Regions from separate parts of the Homo sapiens genome. Here regions 1, 2, 3, 5, 6 and 7 are each linked to region 4. Evidence: promoter capture Hi-C in 16 types of primary human blood cells and fetal thymus (Javierre and others, 2016). All regions are on one chromosome and are shown on one strand. Each heading gives the region's core, a stretch centred on a gene start or on the middle of the fragment in contact. The rest is flanking DNA. Distances are from core to core; before and after follow the strand shown. Region 1 overlaps LOXHD1 (lipoxygenase homology PLAT domains 1). Region 2 overlaps LOXHD1 (lipoxygenase homology PLAT domains 1). Region 3 overlaps LOC105372093 (a long non-coding RNA gene). Region 4 holds the start of ARK2N (arkadia (RNF111) N-terminal like PKA signaling regulator 2N). Region 5 overlaps LOXHD1 (lipoxygenase homology PLAT domains 1). Region 6 overlaps LOC105372096 (a long non-coding RNA gene). Region 7 overlaps ST8SIA5 (ST8 alpha-N-acetyl-neuraminide alpha-2,8-sialyltransferase 5).

Region 1 (3,378 bases), core at 361-2,860, 430 kb after region 4:
TTGATTGAAAGATTTATAAGCTGAGGTGAAACACTACACCAGGAATCAGGATAATCATAACCACCAACTGAGCGCCTCTGGGTAACCTGTCCTGCTTGGCCCTTGGACGCTTGCACAGAACAGCCCCTGTTCCTGACCACTTTTGAGGCAAGATAGACGGACACGTAACCACCCAAAATGCCCAATGAAAGAGATTGCCCATGCACTCTGTAACTAGTTCAGAGAAGTAGCATTCAGGTTAAAGTTTGTACTTGCAAGTTAAAGAGGAGAGGGGTTGAATCAGGGAAGGCTGTCTCTGGGGGCATCCCTTACCTTCTCACAGAACCAGCCTCTGTTGACACCCACATTGCCATGCCCGACGGAGACCCGACTCAGGGGGCTAAGGAGGACAGCCAGCTCGATGTGGAAGATGTCCGTGCGGCCTCGGTCAAACACGCCGCCCTCCAGGAAGATTTTCCCACTGTTCTTATTCCCTCTGGCCCCATACATGACCAAGTAGATTTTGGATTTGGTACCAGCCCCCCGGACATCCCCAGTGAAGACGGTGACAATATACGTAATAGCTGGTGTGGAAACAACAGGAAAGAGAGTGTTCAATGTGAGCTGCATCATAATATCCCACCCCCTCCTCCCCTTCCTGGTTACAACACCCCCAAAGCCCTCCTCCTCCACACATCCTCTTTCCCCATCATGTCCTACTCCTCCAGATGCCACCTAATGTCCCTCTCGACCTCATTTCATCTTTTCCAGAGTTTGTGTGTCCAATGCATCTGAGTTTGAGAATAAACCGCACGTATTATTACAGGAAGCTGTCAGTGCTGATTAGAGGAAACTAACAAAGAGAAGGAGGAACTCGGGTTGGCTAAGAATAGTACTTATTATTAATGATAATTACCATGCGTACATTATTAATAGCTGCCAGATGAATTCTGTTATGTCTAATCTAATTATAATAGTCAACTCCATTAATGGAGATTTACGTTCAGGGCTATCTGATTCATTTCGCTTGCTCTTTTGCTGATAACTTAAAAACATAACTTTTAATAGAGGACATTAATGTCCTCCTTTGCTGCCTGATGTGGTAGGGTGAGGAGGATTGAGGGAGAGAGAGAACATTGTTGGTTGGGCCATTTGAGGTTCTGGTCTATCAGGAGGCAATATGAGGACATGGAATTCTGAGGAAGAACTAGCAAAGGGAGATTAAACTCTGGGACTGGGCGAAGTAAAAGAAAATACCAAAGACAAACATTTGGACAGGCAATTCTACTAAGGACTGGCCTGGCCTAGATTTTTTTATTTTATTTATTTTTTATTTTTTTGAGACAGAGTCTCACTCTATCACCCAGGCTGGAATCTAGTGGTGTGATCTCAGTTCACTGCAACCTCTACTTCCCAGGCTCAAGCGATTCTCGTGTCTCAGCCTCCTGAGTGGCTGGGATTACAGACATGTGCCACCACACCTGGTTAATTTTTGTATTTTTAGTAGAGACAGGTTTTCACCATGTTGGCCAGACTGGTCTCGAACCCCTGGCCTCAAGTGATCCACCCCCCTCAGACTCCCAAAGTGCTGAGATTACAGGCATGAGACACCATGCCTGGCCTACATTCTGTAATTCTGTCCTGGGGTCTAAGGCGGTTGTCACTTTAAGCCTTGTTAATTCCCCTACCCATCCCTCACCCTACCATACCCCACACTCTTATCCCATAACCTCAGAGAAATAAAAATCCCAAATTTCTTTGAGTGATAATACATGCAACTACATGGGTGTATTATTCATTCTTAAACTTACATTTTCTTTTGTTCAGCATTTATTGAGTGCTTACTAGATTCCAGGCCTTTGGGAGTAAATAAATAAAAAGGAATGGTCATTGCTCTAGAAAAAAAAAATAGGTCTCGAGCTTTATTTCTCTAAGATGCATGGACAAATGGTGTTCCCACATCAGATATACTTTCATCGTTTAGGATATAAGCAATGCCCAGCTGCTATCATTTCTGCTCTTCTTCTACCACTAGGAGACATATAATATTCACATATTCAGTATATATTAATTCTATTCGAGTATGTTTTTAAGTAAACTGCAAACTTTTCATCTGTAGATGACTTGTGCCACACCTCACAATGATCAGCCCGCAATGCTGAGGTTGAAAAGGACTGGAGCAGAGGAGCATTTAGGCTTCTGAACAGCAGCAATAAAGGTCTGCCAAGGAGCATGGAGCAAAAGAAGGGAGAAGTTACCCAGGCCAGAGAAGGTCAGGGAGGGCTCAGAGGAAGTGACTGGAAACAGGAATTCGAGAGGCAGAAAGAAGAGAAAAGACTTTTCAGGATGAGGAGAAGGCAGGTTCCGAGGATAGAGAGAGAGAAAGAGCAAGGCAAGCAGGGAGTTGAGGGGAGAGGGAAGGCATGGGAGCAAGATGGAGGGAAGAATGGAAGGTGTGAATGTGCAGTGGGAGAGAGGGTATGGGAAGACTCTGTGGGTAGGATGAATGGAGCCAAATTGGGGAGAAATGTGTACATTATACTACAGAACATGGATTTTCTCCCATGGTGAGTCATGGGAGTTCTGCTGCAGAGAACATTCTCAGATGTACACAATATCAACGTTGATTTTCTAGAACATGCATGACCATGACTGCCATGCTGGGAGTTGGAAGTTTTCTGTGGAATTCATACAGGTTAGGGCTTTAGGAAGCAGACCAAATCCTGAATCTATCACTTGCCAGCTGTGTGCCCTTGGACAAGGCTCTTCCATTGCCTCAGTTTCCTCATCTGTGTGATGGGAACAATAACAGTTCCTACTTTATAGGGTGGTTGTGAGGACTGAAGGACACCATGTAGGTCAGGTACCTACCTAGAAGGCCTGGCATATACTAAGCACTCAATATCAGGAAGAGTTCAGATCAATGTCCTGGGAAACATCCATGCTTGTCAGAAGTTCACATTCTGGCTTCATCCTATGGATACCTTCCTTTGCCCTGGGCAGTTAGTATCTGCTTAGCAGCATCCCCCAGGTCCTCTGGCAACAACAGAGCCCCAGGCTGCAACCCAGTGGGACAGAACAGTTTCAGGAGCAGGAGGAATGCTGTCTGCAGACCCAGCTGGCTCCTGTTTGATCACAGGCCTCCAGCCCCACAGATGCCAACAGCGACCCTTAGGCAGAAAGTGAAATACCCAAAAGAGCCTCCCCTTTCTTCAAATCTACCTGTGGTCTCAGCTCCGCCCACTAAGATATCCCTTTGGATTTTGCCATCGTCTTCGTCCAAGGCCAGCCAGCGGTTAAGGGGGAAGTCATATTTTCTTTTGTTCCCAATATCTTCAATGACTATCTGGGAAGGAGAAGAGGGGACAAGGATGTAGATAAGTGTTGTTGAGGGTGCAC
Region 2 (3,490 bases), core at 320-2,819, 460 kb after region 4:
AACTCCTCACCCATGAAGACTCAGTTTGAGCATCACCTCCTCTATAAAGGCCTCCTGATTCCTTCTTCCTCTATGCTCCCATTGGCCTGGGCGCCATACCCCACTTAGAATATTCTATCCCTTTGCACTGTGATTATCTACTGGCTTGACTCTCTCCCGTCTAGACTCTAAGCTCCTAGAGAGAAGGGCCTGTATGTAATCACCCTGAGCGCAGGCTCTGGTGCATAGAAGGCTCCCCGCAAAATGCCCATTGAATCACTGAATGAATGTGCTTAACAGGAGGAATGATGGAGGAGCATGAGCTGGCACCAAAAGCCCAAGACTGCAGCTCTGCCCTACAGTTATGCTGTGTGACCAAGAGCAAGGGGCTTAATTTCCCTGGGCTTCCATTTTCTCCTCTCTGAAATGGAGGAAGAGTAGATAAAGTCCCTTTTGGTCCTTAAATTCTCTGATGTGCCACAACAGGGCCTCACTTAGAGTGGTTCTCTTCTTCCCCCTCTTTCCGGAGATGATTTTCTGCAGTGCTAGGTGGGAGCAGATGGGGTGGGCGGGGAGCTGCTGTGAGCTTCAGTGGAGGAAAGTGCTGCAGGGCTGGCCCAGCCCTCCCTACCCTGGAGTCCTTGCCCCCACCTGGGAATTCTTCCATGGAGTTCAAAGGAACAATGACTCCCAAGCAGCACCCACAGCAAATAGGCTCAGAGAGCCCTGGAGAGTGCTCCGTGAAGGAAAATGACAAAGCGTCGGGAAAAGAGGCTTTCCCTGCTGGCTTTAACAGCAGTCAAGGTGATGAGCCTATTCCCAGTTGTCTGCTTGAACCTGCCTGGATTCCAGAGGGGAACCTGGCACTGAGTAGCTCTGGAGTACTTTCTGAGAGGTTAGAATCTTAAGCCTGTGCATCTCAGAATCAGAAAAAGCCTGGATGTGGGGGAAGAAGAAAGGGAAACATCAGGAGCTTAACCACAAGGACAAGCACCACGCTATTGTGTCATTTACTGAGCATTGACTCTGTGCCTCGGCACTAAGTCCTGTATGCTCATTTCCCCAGCTAATCTTATCAGGTAGAAATTAATGTTCTCCCCACTTTACAAATGAGAAAATAGAGGCACAGAGCTTAAGGCATCTGCTCATGCTAGCATAAGTGGCAGAATGGCAGAGCTAGCTTTTGACCATGGAGAAGGGGAGTCCAGAGACCGAGTCCATGGTGGGGGACTATCTTGAAGATGGGAAGTATGGGGAGATGAAATAGGGCAGAAAGATCCACAGTAGAAAGGAAGCCACCAAAGGCCAATCTCCTTTTGCCCCCATGGAGGAGGGCTGGCCCTGACCTCTCCGTCTCCCTTTGGTTATGAAAGTGGACACTCTAGTAATCCTGAAAAGACTCCAAGAGACCCCCTAGTCCAGGCACTCTACAGAGGGAGAAACTGAGGATAGGAGGGGAACTGAGATCTGCCCCAGGTCTCATTGCTATTTGGTGGCAAAGCCAGAACCAGAACTCAGGATGTATAGTCCCATGTGCTTTCTGACCCAGAGAGTTATTTTAAGATTAATGATTTAATTACTCTACGATAATATCCTATAGAATCTGGGAATAAGTCAGTGCTTCTGGCTTCTTGACAGAGCCTTTGCGATGGGTGTTTTATGCTCCAATCATGCAGGGTACTTTCATTTTGCATTTGCACTATGCAGTCCTCTGGCAGGTCCATAATCCTTTGCAGGGCGGTACAATTTGCACATGCCCCTAATACGTTAATCACCATCCCTTTCTTATCCCATTCTCCCCTCAAATGCACCCTGGGCACTACGCCCAACATGGTCATGTCAAGATCGGGTACACATCTGGAGCTGTGTGATAATCATTGTGTGGCACTGCATGGCCTGGAATAAAACTATAACCCAGTTACCTGATGAAACAGCCAGGAATGGAAACAGTGATTATGCTGAAAACAAACACAATTCCATTTCTACCCATTCCCAAGTGCTGTGCAGCTTTCAGCCCCCAGCTCCAGCTTTCTCACTGGGCATTAAAAAAAAAAAAAAAGAAAAAAAGAAAGAAAGAAAAAAAGGCAATTCATTTGCTCCAGAATGGGAGTCCAGATGTAAACGTCATCCACCCCTCCCACCACCTGCATGCGCCCAGCCCACCTGCCCAAGTTGTTGTTTCTTCTTATGGCTTCCCTTTCCTGTAATCATCAGCCTCTCTTCTCTTTGAAGCATACAACAAAACTGGCTGCAACCATATTTGTTATTAATCTACCCAAGAAGATTACATGCCCCCTAGATGGTGGCTTGTCCTTCCCAAAACCTAAAGAACAAGAGCAGGTGTGGAATCAGGACCCACCTCAAGACTGGGCCCTCTGAATGCAAGGGGCCTCTCTGCTTCTGCCAGTGCCTGAGTCTGAAACATTTCTGAGCTGTTGTGCTGGGTTCTGACAGCCCTGGTGTGTGAGCAGCCCCCAGGTCAGCTGCAACGCAGCTCTTGGCTTCAGAGGCCTGTCTCATGGCCAAGCTGGTGGAGCCTTCCCCAGGCAGTATGGTGTGGGCTCAATATTAATCTAAGCCACATGATCATCTCAGTGCTTTTCGAAGTAGGAGGGTTTGTGGGTAGGCACTGGGCTGTGGGCAATTACTTGGCCAGAAAGCAGGAAATGACATCATATTGGTCGTGAGAAGGCCAGGCAGGATCTGCCTTAAACAGGTCTTGCTCATGCTTCCCTACCAGCCCAAGCTCCTTCAAGACCCAATATGAGGTCATCCCAAATCTACCTGGAGAGCACACGCCATCTTATCAGGCCTTGCCTAACTCAGATGTCTCGCCCAACCTCATTCTTCAATACTGCCCCATAGGGAAGGCAGGGATGTGCCCAGGGCTTCCCTGAAGTCAAAGAGGACTGAGTAGCCCTGCATTCTCAGCCTGGGCAACTCTGCAGTGGGCTTATGAATTGCACCTGGGCACTGTGTCCTGTGAATGTCTCACCAAAAGGGACAACATCAAAGTGGGTATGGGGGGGGGTGTGAAATCAGTGGGTGGGAGACACCTGGAGGCAAGCAAGAAAGAAGGTGCTTAGCTAGCACAGTGTCAGAGTAAGCCAGTGCTACAGGGACCTCAGAGAACATCTCGAGCAACCTGGTAAGAAGATGAGAAAACAGAGACCCAGAGAGGATGAGCAACTTGCCCAGAGTCACATAATTACCAAAGTGTGAGGCTAGGACTCAGGTCTCTGCCCCTTTGGAAAGCTCTTTCCACCCATCTCTGTGGCTTGTCTTTATAATCAGATGTGTCTATCCATGACCTCCCATTACTACCATATGCACACAACCTGTTCCTTACCAACGTTCATACAAGCCCCTAAGTCCCAGTGGCCAAGGTAGCAGCTGTGAGTAAAAGCCATCACCAGGTAGATAGGAGGAGACCGCAGTGTTACCCTCAGAGCAACCTGAGCTTCACTGGAGAAACTGGAGAGATACACATTAGGAAGTTAGAGCCCTGAAA
Region 3 (3,268 bases), core at 1-2,500, 490 kb before region 4:
GGGGCCCAGGCAACAGCCCAGACTAGCTCTATCAGAACCTTAGGGGCGGCCCAGGCCGGGGTGGTTGCCAAAGCTCCCCAGGGGGCCCCATCAGTAGAAGGTGTGGGGGCTGCTCGGTGCTGTGCTGTGCTGCTCTGTGCAGGGCTGCAGGGAGAAGATTCTCTAGAGAGCTCTCAAGTGGGAGGAGCCCCAGGCAGCATGATTTTGTCAAATGGAGATTGTCTCTGTCCCTGAGGTCAGAGGAGGGCTGTAACCATACAGTTCTTAACCTCTGGATTTGGACAAATGTAAGCTGTGTTCCTGGCCCCTCTAAAGACCTGTGAATCCTATTCTGCTCATCTGTGTGTAGTTCTTGTTTTTAAGCTTCCAGAGAGACACTGATTCCTAGCTAGTTTCTAACCCTAGCATACAGCAAGATGGAAAGCTCAGGACACAAGATTAAAGTGACAGCCTGGAGGGCAGGACAGGGAGTCTGGGCTGTGGCTGGAGCACCCATCACCATTCCTGGGCCACAAGCCGCCTTCAGGGACTGGCTTCCTGTTCTCCCAGGCCCCGCTGTGGCTCCTTGGCCTTAGCCCCAGGTTCTCAACATGAACAGACTGTGAACTCCTTGTGAACAGCGATGAGTTTTGTACATTCCCCTAACTGGGGCCTCTCTCCCGCAGTGAATGAGTAAGTGACAGACACAGTTATACTAAAGTTATAAGTTATGTCCAGCAAAAGAGAGGCATTGCCTTCTCTGTTGTCATCTGTCCTCCCATCAGTGTCTTGCAAGTCTTAATAGCTTTTGAACAAATGAATCATATTTACATTTTGTACTGGGCCCCATGAATTACGTAGCTGGTCCTGTGCTGAGCTCTTGGTGGCAACTGGAGCTTGCTCTCCCATGGCTGCAGCATCAAAGATCCCCCTGGGCTAGTTCTCTGCTTTCAAACTCCTTCCTCACCCATGACAGCATGAGACAGCAACACAACACCCCAATATACACAGAGCCTCACTTGTGGGGTACTCACTTGACAAGCACCCCAGGGAGCAAAGGAAGTGCAGAGAGAGGTGGCACCTTCTATCCTGAAGACCCAGCACACCCAGGCTCCATGGTGCAGGGACTGGAACAAACCAGGAAGGCACCCCACAACCAAAATATTTGTAGATTTTCCAGCTGGAGCAAAGGAAAGACCCAGACAGATCCCTACTCATAATCAGCTCATGAAACGCCCTACTGGAGAAAGGCAGAAAGAGTAGCTGGCTTTTTCCCCATCCCTGCATACTCCCCTGGGTGCTCTTTGAATCAATGTTTAGCCGGATTTCACCCAATCATGAGCGTGTGAGTGGGGAGCACCCCCATGACTTGGCTTCCTGCCCAACACATCACACCACAACCTGTGAATAACTCATCTTCCCCAACACATTATAACCTCTGAGGGGCCAGATTATGTATTTTCATGGCCCCCATTCCAGGCCTGGCACGTGGATACATATTTACTGACAGATGGACCCCTACTTCAGCATCCCTGTAAGCCTGGAATTAATTCCAGGAGGTGGGTACTAAGCAAGATAATGTTTAACCAAAATGCAGATTCTAGCACCTCCCCTGAACCCTAAGATATTGGGATTCAGTAAGTGATGGGGTATCTGCATTTTTACCTGCATCGCAAATGACTTAAGAAGGCCAATTCTCCTGGCTATCTGAAGAACTGAAGGAGGTGGGTAGACAGAGGGGGTCTCAGCACAGGAATTTGAGTAGAATTCACGTAGAAGCCCAGGACATGATTGCATGAGTGGCCATGGGTCAGTGTGCAGCTTGCAAATCCAGTCACTGTAAGGCCTTATCCTAGAAAGGCCCTGACGGGGACTGGGGTTGCGGGGGTGGGGATTGAGGCAGGTGGCTACCATCTGTCAAGAGCAGCAGCAGACCTGCAGCTGGCTCCATGGCTTCTGTGGCCCATGCCCACCCTCCCTCCTTACCATCACAGCAGTCGCCCAAATGGCTCAGAGAGGAGCTCATGGGAACCCCACTTACTGTTGACACTGGGGGAAAAGAATGGAAATATGATTTGGCATAACTTGAGGGACGTATAAATGGTTTGTGCCTTTCACACCCCAAAAACTTCAATTTACCTCCCTCATGAATGTCTTAGAAGCTTCTGCATTCTTTAAGAAAACTCTAGTTTTTACATAAATTTAATATTGACCATATAATTCAACATTCAATTTTATGTTATCTGGTATCACCTGCCACCTGGGTGGAGGGTCTTATTTGCTCAGCAAGATGGGAAACTCTAAAGTCAAAGACCTCATCTTATAATTACTTGAACACAACATACTTTGGAGACCAAACATATTACTGAGCACAGGATATCCGTGCTGCTTGATTCACTTACTATTTGAACTCCTGGTTCTGAGACTGTTATCCGAGGAGAATAAAAGGGTGCTGGATGGGCTTCCATGGAGAGATGGAAACTGTCTGAGTGTTAAGGGCTCAGGCTAGGGAGGAGACAAAACTCTTCTTCTGAAAGTTTCATAGCTTTAGCTCTTATATTTAGGTCTTTGATCCACTTTGAGTTATTTTTTGTATATGGTAGTAGAGTCCCCAATCTTCTGCAAGTGGATATTCAGTTGCCCCAGCACTATTTATTGAAAAGACTATTCTTTTTTGCATATGGGATTGTTTTTCAGAATCCAGAAAAATCTTTAGTTCACATTCCTCTTGCTTTAAGGTAGTATTTCCATAACTCATCAGTCATGGATCTTAAATACATATCCAAAAGAAAAAATTTTAAATAAGAAAAAGTCACATGATCCAATGAGATCCAGGTACATTAAGCCAAATAAAGTTTAACATCTTTCATTAGCATTGGCTTCTCAAAGACTTTAATGCCAGTGTGCTTTTAATGAATCACTTATCCTTCTTTTATCAGAGAAGGGCGTGTGTGTGTGTGTGTGTGTGTGTGTGTGTGTCCACATATTAACATCTCTACGAGTACACTTCCAAACACCTCGAGTTTTGGAATCATTCTTTTGCAAGAGTAGACTTACTGACTTGAATGCTATTGGATTGTTTTAATTTCATCTTGGAGAGTTCGGCTAACAGGATGGTTGGGGTGTGTGTGTTTTGTAGACTTGTAGCTTTTATCTTCAACCAGGTCAGAGCAGAAATAACACAGTAACCTATGAATTCCTCTGGGGTGTTTTTTAGCAACTGAATGTAGAAGCCACAATTTTAGTTTGTTTCTGAACTGTCCATTTTTTTAAACTTAAATATTAAGGT
Region 4 (3,154 bases), core at 647-3,146:
GGCCAACATGGTGAAACCCCGTCTCTACTAAAAAACCAAAAAATTAGCTGGGTGTGGTGGCGTGCACCTGTAATCCCAGCTACTCGGGAGGCTGAGGCAGGAGAATCGCTTGAACTCGGGGGGCAGAGATTGCAGTGAGTCAAGATCGCGCCACTGAACTCCAGCCTGGGCGACAGAGCAAGACTCTGTCTCAAGAAAAAAACCAAAAAACCAAAACCAACCAACCAAACAAAAAACAAAGAAACAACAACCACAAAGCAAAAAACAAAAAACAAAAAACAGGAGAAGGACCCAAGATGGTATCTCAGTAGTCAGGGTCCTACTTCAGTATTTCTGCAGCATTGATTAGATCAGACTGTCAAGGAATCTTTTAAAAACTCAATGTATTAGTCCACATTCATTCATTTCCAGACTGAAAGTTGTGATCTTAGTGTGATTTTTCCTTTTCTTTTCTTTTTTTCCTGAAATAGGCTGGGCTCTTGTCACTACCCCATAACCTCTCAAATCCCTTGAGGACTCAGGTAGCAGAAAGTAAATAAATGAATGAACGAGTGAAATAACATACACGGATAAACTACTTAGCTAGCACACACTACGTTCTCTGTGATTCTCAGTGAGGCAGTTGGTGGCTGTGGTTAAGAAAGTAAGCTCTGCCTGTGTTGGAATCCAACACTGCCACTTACTTGGATGTGTCATCTTGGGCAGGTCACTCTGTCCCTCAGTTTCCACCTTTGCAATTTGGGACTAGTAACGCCATCCAACTCATAGGGTTGTTATGAGTTGTAATGAGGATTCAGTGGATTTAACCCATTTAAATGCAAGGTGCCTGGTATAATAAAATTATTTTCTTTTCTTAATTTATTCTTGTAGTTGGGGATGAAAAACTCGCACTCCTGTAGGCAGTCAGAAAAAATGAGTGAAGTGGGGGAACTAAGGGGCCTGGTCTGAAGGGGGAGACTGATATTTAGGGGAGTGCGGACCCAGTGGTGTGAGATTTTCAGAATCTCCTCTTGACGGGTCTCATCCGAGGTTCCAGCACAGCTCTGTAAAGGTAAAGACCGTTTACATTTTCCTCCTCAAAGCTTTATTATTATTATTTTTCTTCTCAAAACACTGCTTTGCTTTGGGGGAGCGCGGGTCCTTGGCCAGATCTTGAGTCTTGAGATATGTCTTCAGCATCTCCTGCTCCTCCTTGGGAAACGCTCCACCCGCCAGTGGGCCTGCGCCCTCCTCCCCTTCTTCGGGGTTCGGGTCCACCTCGTTTCCCCCACCCTCCCCAGGGCTGACTGCAAATCGGAGGGCGACTGCAGAGGCGGAATTCGGGGCAGAGCGGGGTCTCCCCAGCGGGCCACGTCCCACCAGCAGGTGGCGGTCGATCTGCAAGGCCTGCAAGGTGCCCGGACAGAAACTTGAGCAGATATTGGTGCCGCTGCCCGAGAAGAGCTCAGCCGAGTCTCCCCGAGCCCAGCTATCGGCATCCGCGAAAAAGCGGGGAGAGAAGGGCACGGGCTCTCCGCTGGAGCGACTCTGGGATTCAGACACCGCAAGCTGCTTTCGGAAGGGCTTCAGGAGGGGGTGAGTACTGAGCAGCGCACAGAAAAGGGAGCGCTGTCCTTTGCTGAAGGCATTGTCCTTGGCTTGCATTGAGTGGCTTTCCCACCCCCCGGGAAAGACATTTCGGGAAGGTGACGGTCTCAACAGAAGGAGGGAGCGCGGGAAAGAAGCCCGGGGAGCCGGCGCCTTCACGCCCCGCGGTCTGCAGCGGGAGGAGCGCGGGTTCCATCGCGCCAGATGGCGCTGTCTGGCTTTTCTCGGGCCTCGGGCGCCAGTCTCCAGAGGTCTCCGGCGCAGCTGCCTCTCTAGCCGGCCGACGCGGGCTCTGTGTTTCCGGGCGGAAGTGAGGCGCCCAGCGGAACGGCCTCTGGTGACATTTTCTTGGGGGCGGCGCGGACGACTGAAGGGACTTGGTGGTAGAGGCTGCGGAGGCGGCGAGGTTCACTTTGGTCCCGGCAGGGGCTCTGACCGCGACCCACTGCTCGCTGCCGGGGCTTGTTCCGAGGAGGAGAAGGCGGCGGTGGCCGTCGCGTCCTGAGTCACCGCAGCGGGGAAGAGTCCCGGCCGGGGGTTCGGTGCGTGCCCCGACGGGGCGCGCGCGAAGCGAGCGAGAAGGCACGGAGTCGCCGCGGAGCGCAGGTGAGGCGGGAAGGGGCGCAGGGCCGCGGCCTGGCTACTGGTCGAGTTGGGGGGCCCGGGTTGCGTCCCAGGGAGGGGTCGGGGCGAATCGGAGGGCTGCGGGCCGCGGTGAGGGCTCTGCGGCGTCCGGACGCTGGGGTCCTAGCGGGCCTGGCTGGTGGGCGCCGGGAACTCGCAGCCTGGATTGCCGGCTGACGCTGGGGCATCGCACCTCTCCGACCTCCTTGCTCGTCCGCCGTTGGTGACCCTAGCGTCCTCCCGGCCCGGCGGAGTTGGCTCCGGCACTCCAAGCCCCCAGACGCTGGGGCCGGGTTGAGGCGAGTCCTTTTCCGGGGGTGCTGAGGGGAGGCTGGAGGTGCCGCAGTCCCCGGGCTGCGGGGGGAAGCGACTTCACGGCCCTGGAGTTGTCTTCACGCAACTTTCCGGCTCCTAGGCCCGCGGGGGAAGCAGTGGCGGCAACTCCGCCAGCTCCGAGAGTAGGGGGTCTGGCGCCGACACCTGCCCCTGCAGCGGAGAGCTCCGGCGCCGCGGCCGCAGTGGCCTTGGTGGAGGGAGAAAAGGCTTTCTTATAGGCTTGGCGCCGCCTGCCTCTCGGCGCTTCCACTACCTTCGGTCGGCAGGCGCCTCCAGTCAATGCGAGAGATGTGTCAGTCTCCAAAATAGACCGCTTCTGGGGAGTTTGTCAACTTTATTTCAAAACCGGCGAGGATGTACACTGACGAACCCGTGTTAAAGACTATCGCCTTTACGCAAGCCATTCATTCTCACTTTAAAATTGTCCACCCCCCCGCCCCGACCCCCGTCCCCGGCAGCCCCCATCACAAAATTGATGCTCACAGGTTGAAGTAGAGAACATCGGTACGAGCCCTACCAGATCCTTGAGCAGTTTCTGTTTGGATGGGTTTTTCGTTTTTTGCCTGACCTTTTGCTTTCTGAATCCTCTTACCCAGTAGAATTAAAA
Region 5 (3,167 bases), core at 35-2,534, 400 kb after region 4:
ACCAACTTCTTCCTCTTCCCCTTTCCAGGCTCCTTCTCCTGGCCTGCCCCAGGGCTCGGCCCTCACTGTTTTCTTTATCCACACTCTCCCTAAAGGATCCCCTGCAGTTCCCTGGCTTTAAATTCTAGCTCTATGCTCTTATTCTCTGAATTCATTTCTCAAGGCCTAACTCTGCATTGAAAACCAAACACATCCCAACTAGACCTCCAGAGTCCAACCTCGTCCCCACCCCTCAGCTCTCCCTCCCCAGGATCCCCATTTCAGTAAAGGGCATGACCTTCAACCCACCTATCAAAGGCAAAAGCCTGGGGCTTTCAGTTCTGGCCCTTTCTCTGTCTCTTATGGGCAAGGCCCATGAACTGTCCCTCCAGGGTCCTCTCTGGTGTACAATAAGCCCCGTCTCACCACCTTCACTGCCACCACTAAGGGCCAAGCTGCTATGTGGTGAACTGAATTGTGTCCCCCCACCCCACCCCATTCATACATTTAAGTCCTAACCTCCGGTACCTCAGAATGTGACCTTATTTGGAAATAGGGTCATTGCAAATGTAACCAAATTAAAATAAGGTCATTAGGGTGACCCCTCATCTAATCTGACTGGTATCCTTATGAAAAGGGAAAATTTGGACACAGATATATATAGAGGAAGATGCTGTGAGGAGGCGCAGAGAGAAGGTGGCCAATCACAAGCCAGTGAACTCTGGAGGCTGCTGGGGTGAGGACATAGGCCCGGGTCAGATCCTTCCCTAGCGCCTTCTGAGGGGTGCAGCCTGGCTGACACCTTGATTTTGGACTTCTGGCCTCCGAAACTGTGAGACATTATGTTTCTGTCATTTAAGCCACCCAGTCTGTGCACTTTGTTACAGCCCTGGAACATGAACACATGCCGTCATCAACTCCCCAAAATCTCCTACTGCTCTCCCCTCCTCCCTGGGCCCTGTCCTATCCCCAGAGGCCAGACAGGCCTTCCTCGCATGCAAGAGTCTCCCTCGCCCTGCCGGACAGTGGCCTCCATCTACCTGCCTGTCTTGCTGGACTCCAGAACACTCCAGTCCTTTCCCCTGGTGCTCTCCTCTTCATTCCACAGGAGGCCAGCCTCAACATCCCTCTGCAGGCAGGCCTTTCCCATTTCTAGCCCCGGCTCCAGCCCCTGCACCGTTGTGTGTTTCCTCCACGCCACTCTTCACAGTGTGTCATTCTGGCTTTATTCACTTGCTTTTAGTCTAGTTTCCCTCTAGACTATAAACTCCATGAGGACAGGGAGTAAGTATATAGTAGGTATAAATATATTTTGAGTAGATAGGAATAAAACAATGCAAGCTCTTCCATCTGGCATCCAGCCAGTCAGCCTCTGATCCAGGATGGGGGTGAAAACGCCAGTAATGACTTGAAGCGAGGCTGTACTCTTCCCCCACACCCCGCTTCCCCCGTGGCTTAGGAGAATGAGGGTTCACACTCCACCCTCTCCCACCCCAGCCTTCTCACTCCTTCCCCACATGCCAGGCGCCCCTTGCCAACCTCTGGATGAGCCACCCCTCAGCCCCTTGCTCATGCCTCATGCCATTTCTTCAGCCTAGGTGGCCCACCCTCCCTTTTCCTCTCCCTCTGTCCACTCTCTGACCTCCCTTCCAGGCCCAGGTGCACTTCCATCTCTTCCTGGAAGCCTGCCTGGCCTGCCCTCTGTTAGTGCCACTCACTTGGAGCTGCCTGCATTATTACTTACCTTTTCAATGTAATTCCTTGTAATACAAACAGTGCTATATGTAGAAGACTGTAGAGCTCTTTGTCATTGACAAAATCTGTTTCACAATCATTGACCTATGGAGCCCTCCCAGTGGCCCTCCGTGGCTGGGAAACTACTGGGCCTGGGTTGGTGGGGTGCTAAGTAATTCAGCTGCAGCAGATGTGTGCCTGTGTGTGTGCGCCTGTAGGCACAGGCATGCATGTGAGTACATCTGCGTTCATGGTAAGAGGAAGAGCAACACACTCATTACTGGGCAGCTGTGCAACTCACCCTCATCCACTCAAAGGAGGGCTGTCCTCAGTGTAGCTACCCTTGAGGAGCCCTGGACCAGCCCTAATAAAGTGGACACATAGCAACTCATCTCTACATACAGAACTCAGCCTTGGAACTGAGATTTGCAGAGCCGGGTCAGTCCAAGGCCCCAAGTCAATCATACAGTGTGAATCCTCCAGACATTGCCACATAAAATGTGGAGAGCCACCATGATGACATGAAAAACACTGGTATTGCTCATTCTAAAATCTCTCTATCAGGGACTTCTTTAAGTCAATGGGAGCCCAAATGCTTAAGCAAAAAGAGAAAGGAAACTTTATCTCATGAATAAATTGCAGAAAGGAAAACAAGGTAAGATACCTTGAAAAGAAGTTAACAGGGAAGAGGTATGGTCAGAAAGTTATTTAAATTAAAAAAAAACTTTTGATTTAAAAGTTTAATTCAATCTGCAACTAACTCTCTGAACTAACTTTCACCTAAATTCAGGAATTGCCAAATTTTATCATGAACAAGCACCCACATTTTGTTGCTTAAATAGAGGAAACTAGCAGCACACCGGAACACACCACAGTGGTGTTCATCACGGTGGTAGGGGGTGAGAAGGGAATGTGAGGCTCAGGTCTAAGCACCACCAGCGAGGTCACCTCTTTCTTGCACCAGCTATAGCCTTAAGCCACTGTTTTGCTTGCTGGTCATGGTAGTAGGGCTGGGTCTTCCCAAAACACAGGGATCATAACCTAAGCTGGAGAAAACACCAGCAGGCAGGACGCATGTACCTGAGACATGGGAACTCCACGTTGTCGCTCTCAGGCTGCCCCTCCTCTCTCACCAGCACTCTGTCCAGGTACCAGCCGCTGCCGGAGCCTTTGCCATCGTGTCTGATCCTCACCCGCCTCACATTCCGCATGGTGACAGACTCGATAGTGAACTCGTCAGCCTTGTGGGGGGAAACCACAAGGCCAGTTAGACAGTGGCTACCCCAGGACCCAAACACCAAGGGAAGACATAAGCTCAGATATCAGAAAATCCAGAGCTGATGGGTTAGGCAACTCCTCTTTCACACATGGGACAGGAGCTACCTATAAAGCACAGCTCACACCCACCCCCAATTTCTTCCACTGGAATATCATCCAATGTCAAGTTTCCAGCT
Region 6 (3,141 bases), core at 474-2,973, 490 kb after region 4:
TGGTGTGATCTCGGCTCACTGCAACCTCCGCCTCCCGGGTTCAAGTGATTCTCCTGCCTCAGCCTCCCGAGTAGCTGGGATTACAGGCATACGCCACCATGCCCAGCTAATTTTTGTATTTTTAGTAGAGACAGGGTTTCACCATGTTAGTCAGGCTGGTCTCGAACTCCTGACCTCGAGATCTGCCCACCTCGGTCTCACAAAGTGCTGGGATTACAGGCGTGAGCCACCGCGCCCGGCTGTTTCTTAGAACTTTAAAAGCTGAAATCAAAATATTTTTAGAGAATCCCATGGTACTGGAACACACTGGCTAGGAGGTCAGGGAAATAATTCTATATTATTTCTGTATTATTTCAAGGTTCTCCAGACAGACAGAACCACTAGGATATACAGATCAGTAGATATATGACAGGAGGCTTACTAGGGGCGTTGACTCATGGGATTATGGATGCCGAGAAGTCCCACAACAGGCAGTCTGCACGTTGGAGACGTAGGAAGGCTGGTAGTGTGGTGGGTCCAAGTCTGAAGGCCTGGGAACCTGGGAAACCCGTGGTGTAATTCTCAGTCTCAGGCCCAAAACCTGAGAACCTGGTGGTGAGCGGGTGATGGAGCAAGTCCCAGAGTCCAAAGACTGGAGAACCTAGAGTTCTGATGCCCAAGGACAGGAGAAGAAGGGTGTCCCAGCTCCAGGAGAGAGATAAAACATTCACCTTTCCTTTGCCTCTTTGTTCTGTCGGGGCCCCCAGCCGATTGCATGGTGCCCACCCACATTGAGGGCACAACCAGTCATGTTGACACCAAAAATTAACCCTCACAAATACCAAGAGTTCATAGGGACATGAGCAGCCAGAACTCTCATACTGCTAGTTGGAGTGTAAAATGGTGCAGCCACTTTGGAAAATAAAGCAAAGCAAATACTTCCCATGCAACCCAGAAATTCCACTCCTTGGTATTTACCTAAGATAAATGAAAAAGGATATCCACACAAGATCTGTATGTAAATATTCATAGAAGCTTTATTCATAACCAAAAACTGGACACAACTCAGGCATTCATCACCTGGCCAGTGGGTAAACAAACTGAGGTACATCTGTACAGGCAATAATACTCAACAATAGAAAGGAAGGGAGTCGGGAAACATGCTACAACATGGATGCCTCTGGAAAGCACTACGCTAAGTGCAGAAAAGCGGTCAGAAAAAATACATGCTGTGTGATTACATTGATGTAACATTCTCTAAAAGGTAAAACTATAGGATCAGAAAACAGGCCTGATGGGTGCAGTGGCTCACACCTGTGATCTCAGCACTTTGGAAAGCCAAGATAGGAGGATCGCTTGAGCCCAGGAGTTTGGGACTAGCAGTAACATAGGGAGATCCAGTCTCTACAAAAAATTTAAAACCTGGTGGCACAGACCTGTAGTCCCAGCTACTCAAGAGGCTGAGGCTGGAGGATCACTCGAGCCTGGGAGGTGGAGATTGCAATAAGCTGTAGTAAGCTGTGATTGTGCCATTGCACTCCAGCCTGGGCAACAGAGCAAAACCCTGTCTGAGAAAAAAAAAAAAAAAGAAGCCTATGGTTGCCAAGGGCTGGACTAGTGGGAGGGAATGGTCTGCAAGGAAGCATGAAGAGGCATTGCTTGGTCTCAGGAGCAGGACATGGGCTCCACCCTGTCTCTCTGAAGTGGCCTTATCTGCTGCCTTTCCATCTCCATGTGATGGCCTGTCTGGGTCACGCCTATGGTGCAGGCCTGGCTATTGACTCAACTCCCACCCCAGCTCCTTGGTGTGAGGATCCTGCACATAGCTGGCTGTGAACGGGTGCTCAGGGCATGCTTTGCAGACCCACTTCTCATCCCAGTGCAAGGTCTAGATTTGTGGAGAGGTAGGAGGAGGCCTCAGTAGGCATAGCACAAGGCCCTGAACTGTGCAGTGGTGGTGAGGAGTCCTAATTGATAAAGCTAAGATGTAGAGTCCCATCGGTTTCTTGTGTACTGATAAAAGCACAAAGGACAGACAGGGTGATTACTTGGGTGGGACCCCAAGCCTATGATAATAGGGAGAGGTTGTTCATCCAATGACCATTTGCATGTGCACAGACATGTCCAAATGTGCAAAATGATATCGTTGTGCCCGTCTCCTCCTTAGAGTACATTCTCTTGCTGCTGGATGGCGTTGGTCATATTCCTCTCCAGCTCAAAAACATTTGCTTACGCCCCACGGCAATTGAATTTTCTCAGCCAGAGTTCTGGATTAAAAGCAACAGAAACCAACAATGGCTAGTTTAAGTAGAAAAATTATTTTTTTAAGCTGATGGAAGGTGGATCTCAGAATGTCCCAGAGATCTACACTCTGGAAATGATGCCTAGAATCATGCTGGTCCAGAGAGGACCCGACTTCCACCAATGCTGGGCCTGGATGTACAGCGTGCACCACAAGCTTCAGCACTGGCTGTTGCTGCTAGAGCCACAGCAGCTGCCTGTTTGTGCCGCCCTCACCAGAATGGACTCTGCTGCCTTCTGCCATTCAGTCTGGGGCCGGAGCATCTGATTGGCTGAGCCTAAGTCATGTGCCCACAGCCTTGCTGGAAAGGAGGCTGGGAAAGAGAGTATTTGGCCTTTCCAACTGCTATGCTGGGAACTGTGCTCTTCTCAAACTTTAGAAGGGGATTCAGATGCTGGATTACCAAGATAACAAATGTCTATGAAACTAATAGAATTCTAGCTCCTCAAGCTGATAGCAGAGACCCTCTATAATCTGACCAACCTTCTCCTTATGAAACCCACACTGTGGATAAACAGAAGAAACCCCTGTTTTCTAAACGGGCCTGGTGCTTTCCTTCTGCAGGCTTTAGTTCACGCTGACGTTAGAGCTGTTGTGTGCATTCCTGTGTCAGCCAGCTATTGCCACACGACAAGCAAGCATACAAATCTCAGTGGCATGGTGTTACCTCTCACATGTCTGGGGCTGGGTTGGGATGACATATATATGCTGGGCTCAGCTGGCAGGTCTGCCTCAATCTATAGGACCAGCTGAACATGGCCAGGGCAACTCTTTTCTACGTGAGTTTGAAACCATCCCTATAAACTTTATAAAATTAATCAGCAAAGAAGGGAGGGGGAGAAATGAAAATAAACCAAGCT
Region 7 (3,428 bases), core at 901-3,400, 500 kb after region 4:
CTCAGCTGACAATTTCCCCAAGGTGTTACTCAGTTTATTAGCGGGGTATCCTGAACTGCTGGAGTCCCCCAGGAACCAGAGACCTCATTACTGTAGTAAACATGTGTTGAGTGGCCATGGCATGTGCTTCCCCGCCAGTGCTGGCAATACAAAATGAGCTTAGATATCGTGTCTTCCCTTGGGGAGAAGGCAAACCTTCTATCAAGGACACACGGGCCCTTATGCTGTGTGCTGTGAGGATGTCCTAATGGAGTCGGTGATGGTTGCAGCAGAAGCACAGAGGAGAGAGTGCCCAGCCCAGGTCTCTAGAGGGGAGGATGCAGGGGGCCATTACCTGACTTCTGCAAAAGTGGCCAGATAAAAGGAAGGAGAGAGGAACTTAGGAGTGTGAGGGCCATTCCAGGTGTTTGAACAGAGTGTGCAAAGGTGCCTGGAATAGTATGGGATAGGGCAGGGAGGTGGCAGGAGGATCTCTGGGAAGGTGAGTAAGCCAGCTTGGGACATTCCCTGCATGACTTGGTAAAGAACCTGAAGTTTATGATACAGGTAGGCAATGGGCCCCACAAAAGGTATTTTTGGAAGGTTATTCTCTGAAAGCAAAAAGATCCATCAGATGGTCTGGGTTAGGGCAGTAGCAGAGGGGTTGCAGGGAGGGAATGACTTAAAGGGATGTTTATGAGTTGGAATTGACAAGATACAGTGAACAAATAGACATAAAGAGTGAAGGAGAAGGAAGAGGCAAAGGTGATCCAAGTTTTGGGCCAAGGCAACCTGTGCTTGCTAGTGTCTAGTTTGTGCTGGGCACTGTGCTAGGCATTGTGCAACACTATTTCACTTAGCTTTGCAACAGCTGTTGTGGTTGGTATCCTGTCCTCATTTCAGATGATGAGTCCAGAGCCTCCAGGGGCTTCTGGAGCTCCCTCAATTTCACACAGCTACGAAGTAGTAGGAGGAGACTCTGAGTTCAGATTGTTCTTTTAACTATACCAGTTGAGGACATGTTGAGGTCTGAGATGCTGTGCAGACACAGACATGCAGGAGGCCACAGTGAGCATGCTTCCAATGCTCCTAGGGAGGACTGGCCTGCAGGTAGAGGGGTTAAGATGCCAGGGCAGAAGATACTTAAGGCTTTGAATAGATGAGATTTCTGCAGGAATGCTCCTAGGAAGAGAAGAGAACCCTGAGGAAGCTTCACGGAAGATGAATCCACAAAGGAACCTGAGAAGGAGCATTCAGAGAGACAGGAGGAAAGTCAGGGAAGAATAGTTAGAAAACAGAAGAGGAGAGGACTTTAGAAAGACCAGAGAGACTGTGCATAGTGGCTCACACCTGTAATCCCAGCACTTTGGGAGGCCAAGGCAGGAGGATTGCTTGAGCTCAGGAGTTCGAGACTAGCCTCGTCAACATAGCAAAACCCCGTTTCTACAAAAAAAAAAAAATTTTCAAATTAGCTGGGAGCAATGGCACGTGCCTGTGGTCCTAGCTACTTGGGAAGCTGAGGTGGGAGGATCACTTGAACCCAGGTGTCGAGGCTGCAGTGAGCCATATTTATATCACCACCCTCTAGCCTGGGTGACAGAGGGAGACTCTGTCTCAAACAAACAAACAAAAAAGACCAGAGAGGCCAACCTTGTCAAATGTTACACGGATGTCAAGGATGATATCTGAGAAGTATCTGCTGCTTTGCTCATTACACTTTTTATGCTGCCAACCTTCAGAATTCGGAATTGACTTTGGTCATCCCCTCCTCCACCTCTCCCAGATAACTGTCCCTGAGACTGGATTTGATAGTGTTCAGCACAACCAGCTCCCACGTACGTTTGTGGGATTCGTCATTTAACGTCTGTATACACACACACCAGACCACAAACTCCCGGAGGGCAGGGACGACGTTTTGTTCATCACTAGCTCCCCGGCACCTGGCACCATGCCTGGCACAACATGAGCACTCAATAAATATAATTTATTCACCAATTCACTCACTAAATTGGCCAGCACTCTACTCTGCCTCAGTTGTTTCTAAGCACTGCTCTGCTTCCTCCCTGCTCTCAGCAAAGTCAAGGGCGATGAGCACATGCTGTCTCTGGGCACCAGGTGATTAGTGGGCAGAGCTGCCGCAGCAGCATTGCTGAAATGGTCTCAGACGCTGCCTCTGACCTTGAGCCACCTTTCTTTGTGCTTGGCTAAGCACTGAGTCATTTACTTGTTTTTGCTGCCTTTCAAGCCTGGAGCAGTGGGTTTAGCACAAAGGAAGACATGATGGTTGTTTTGTTTACGGGAATCGATTTCCCTTGAATAATAATTCAATGGGTAGTCTGCACTGCATGGTGGCGTGGTGACAGGGCTGTGGAGGAACATGGCAGAAGGCTTCCAGAGTCAACACCAGGTCTCTCTGAGCCTTTGAAAAAATGTTTTTCTTATAAACACTGGCTGCAGCAGAAAAACTATATCCTGAAAGTCAGGAGACTGGTGAGTCCCAGTTGAGCCACAAGCTGGCCATGTAGCCCTGGGCAAGTCATTCGTGTTGTCACTTAACATGTGCTATCTCTGGGCATCTTTCCTCACCTTAAAAATGTGACGATGGCCTCAGTTCCCCTCCAGTGCCACTGTGGGTAAGTCGCTACTGCTGTAGGCGGCAGGGTTAGGGAGAGGCACCTATAAGCACAGGCTGCTTCCCGGACGATGACAGCCTCCTAGAGCATTTGTCCCTGGAGGAGGGCCCCGTACTATCCTGCAGGGGCATCTTGGTCAGGATCCCTCATGTTCTGGTGTCACTGTCTGGGAAGCTAAGACAGAGGTTTGGAGCACAGACTTTGGGGCTCTACAGATCTGGGTGCAGTTCCCTCCATTGGGTGCCGTTCCCTCCATTGGGTGCCTGACCAAGGGCAAGTCCTGGAATTGCTTTAAGCCTCTGTCTCCTCATCTGTACAATGGGAGCCTCCTTACCCAAAGGGGTCTCATGATGATTACAGGAGATAATATAGGGAAAGTGCTTAACGTAGCTTGATAAATGCTAGCTAGTATAATGAGAAATATTAATTATGGTTTAGATCCATTCATCATGAATGTCCCCCCAAAATAAGGACATTGTACAGACGCTGAAGATTTTTACAAAGCTTCTAGTTGTAGAGATGAGGAAACTGAGACATTGAGGGAGAGGAAGGACTGGCCCTAAGACCCACAGGCAGGAATATGGCCAGCAGCCAGGTGTCCCAACTCCTCTGTGGGCTGGATCCCGATGCTCCAATCCTCAGCTCCTACGAGGGCCCTGGCTGGGGCAGATTCCAACCTGCAACACCCTCAGCTGTGGGAATCCTGATGTCTGTGTCACCAGGGAGCCTCCCCCAAACACTGCCCATCTGGAACATAACTAGTACCCAGAGGGCTTCCAGTAGAGGGCTCTGTCCACAGCAGGCACTCAGTAGAGC

Evidence for each region. Contacts are between HindIII fragments. The CHiCAGO score rates a contact against its expected background, and 5 or more counts as called.
Region 1: a contact is called between a fragment that was not itself captured here and the fragment with the promoter of ARK2N in region 4, in 1 of 17 cell types (neutrophils). The highest score is 5.2, in neutrophils.
Region 2: a contact is called between a fragment that was not itself captured here and the fragment with the promoter of ARK2N in region 4, in 3 of 17 cell types (M2 macrophages, naive CD8 T cells and megakaryocytes). The highest score is 7.8, in M2 macrophages.
Region 3: a contact is called between a fragment that was not itself captured here and the fragment with the promoter of ARK2N in region 4, in 1 of 17 cell types (naive CD8 T cells). The highest score is 5.4, in naive CD8 T cells.
Region 5: a fragment that was not itself captured here is called in contact with the fragment with the promoter of ARK2N in region 4 in 1 of 17 cell types (neutrophils); the score reaches 5.1 in neutrophils.
Region 6: a fragment that was not itself captured here is called in contact with the fragment with the promoter of ARK2N in region 4 in 17 of 17 cell types (total CD8 T cells, monocytes, naive CD4 T cells and 14 more); the score reaches 31.5 in total CD8 T cells.
Region 7: a fragment that was not itself captured here is called in contact with the fragment with the promoter of ARK2N in region 4 in 1 of 17 cell types (endothelial precursors); the score reaches 5.4 in endothelial precursors.

What each region holds. Positions count from the first base shown.
Region 1 is chr18:46,600,905-46,604,282 of GRCh38, forward strand. LOXHD1 (lipoxygenase homology PLAT domains 1) reads right to left here. Exons shown (of 41, transcript NM_001384474.1): 7 at 3,202-3,325; 8 at 313-563. Among named protein-coding and RNA genes, the nearest start is that of LOXHD1, 55 kb to the right of the region's middle. The HindIII fragment of the contact is 3,691 bases long and covers 1-3,378 here.
Region 2 is chr18:46,627,770-46,631,259 of GRCh38, forward strand. All of the region lies in intron 4 of LOXHD1 (lipoxygenase homology PLAT domains 1), which reads right to left. Among named protein-coding and RNA genes, the nearest start is that of LOXHD1, 28 kb to the right of the region's middle. The HindIII fragment of the contact is 7,452 bases long and covers 1-3,490 here.
Region 3 is chr18:45,687,736-45,691,003 of GRCh38, forward strand. All of the region lies in intron 7 of LOC105372093 (a long non-coding RNA gene), which reads right to left. Among named protein-coding and RNA genes, the nearest start is that of SLC14A1, 35 kb to the right of the region's middle. The HindIII fragment of the contact is 1,778 bases long and covers 362-2,139 here.
Region 4 is chr18:46,172,138-46,175,291 of GRCh38, forward strand. ARK2N (arkadia (RNF111) N-terminal like PKA signaling regulator 2N) reads left to right here and starts at 1,897. Exons shown (of 5, transcript NM_145055.5): 1 at 1,897-2,193. RefSeq lists enhancers at 1,471-1,520, 1,841-2,100, 2,131-2,180, 2,781-2,910. The HindIII fragment of the contact is 7,725 bases long and covers 1,081-3,154 here.
Region 5 is chr18:46,574,914-46,578,080 of GRCh38, forward strand. It overlaps LOXHD1 (lipoxygenase homology PLAT domains 1), which reads right to left. Exons shown (of 41, transcript NM_001384474.1): 14 at 2,794-2,954. Among named protein-coding and RNA genes, the nearest start is that of LOXHD1, 81 kb to the right of the region's middle. The HindIII fragment of the contact is 7,960 bases long and covers 1-3,167 here.
Region 6 is chr18:46,658,652-46,661,792 of GRCh38, forward strand. LOC105372096 (a long non-coding RNA gene) reads right to left here. Exons shown (of 3, transcript XR_935430.4): 3 at 1,549-2,246. Among named protein-coding and RNA genes, the nearest start is that of LOXHD1, 3.0 kb to the left of the region's middle. The HindIII fragment of the contact is 1,423 bases long and covers 1,013-2,435 here.
Region 7 is chr18:46,674,461-46,677,888 of GRCh38, forward strand. It overlaps ST8SIA5 (ST8 alpha-N-acetyl-neuraminide alpha-2,8-sialyltransferase 5), which reads right to left. Exons shown (of 7, transcript NM_013305.6): 7 at 1-3,428. Among named protein-coding and RNA genes, the nearest start is that of LOXHD1, 19 kb to the left of the region's middle. RefSeq lists enhancers at 1,500-2,347, 2,348-3,193. The HindIII fragment of the contact is 1,927 bases long and covers 1,188-3,114 here.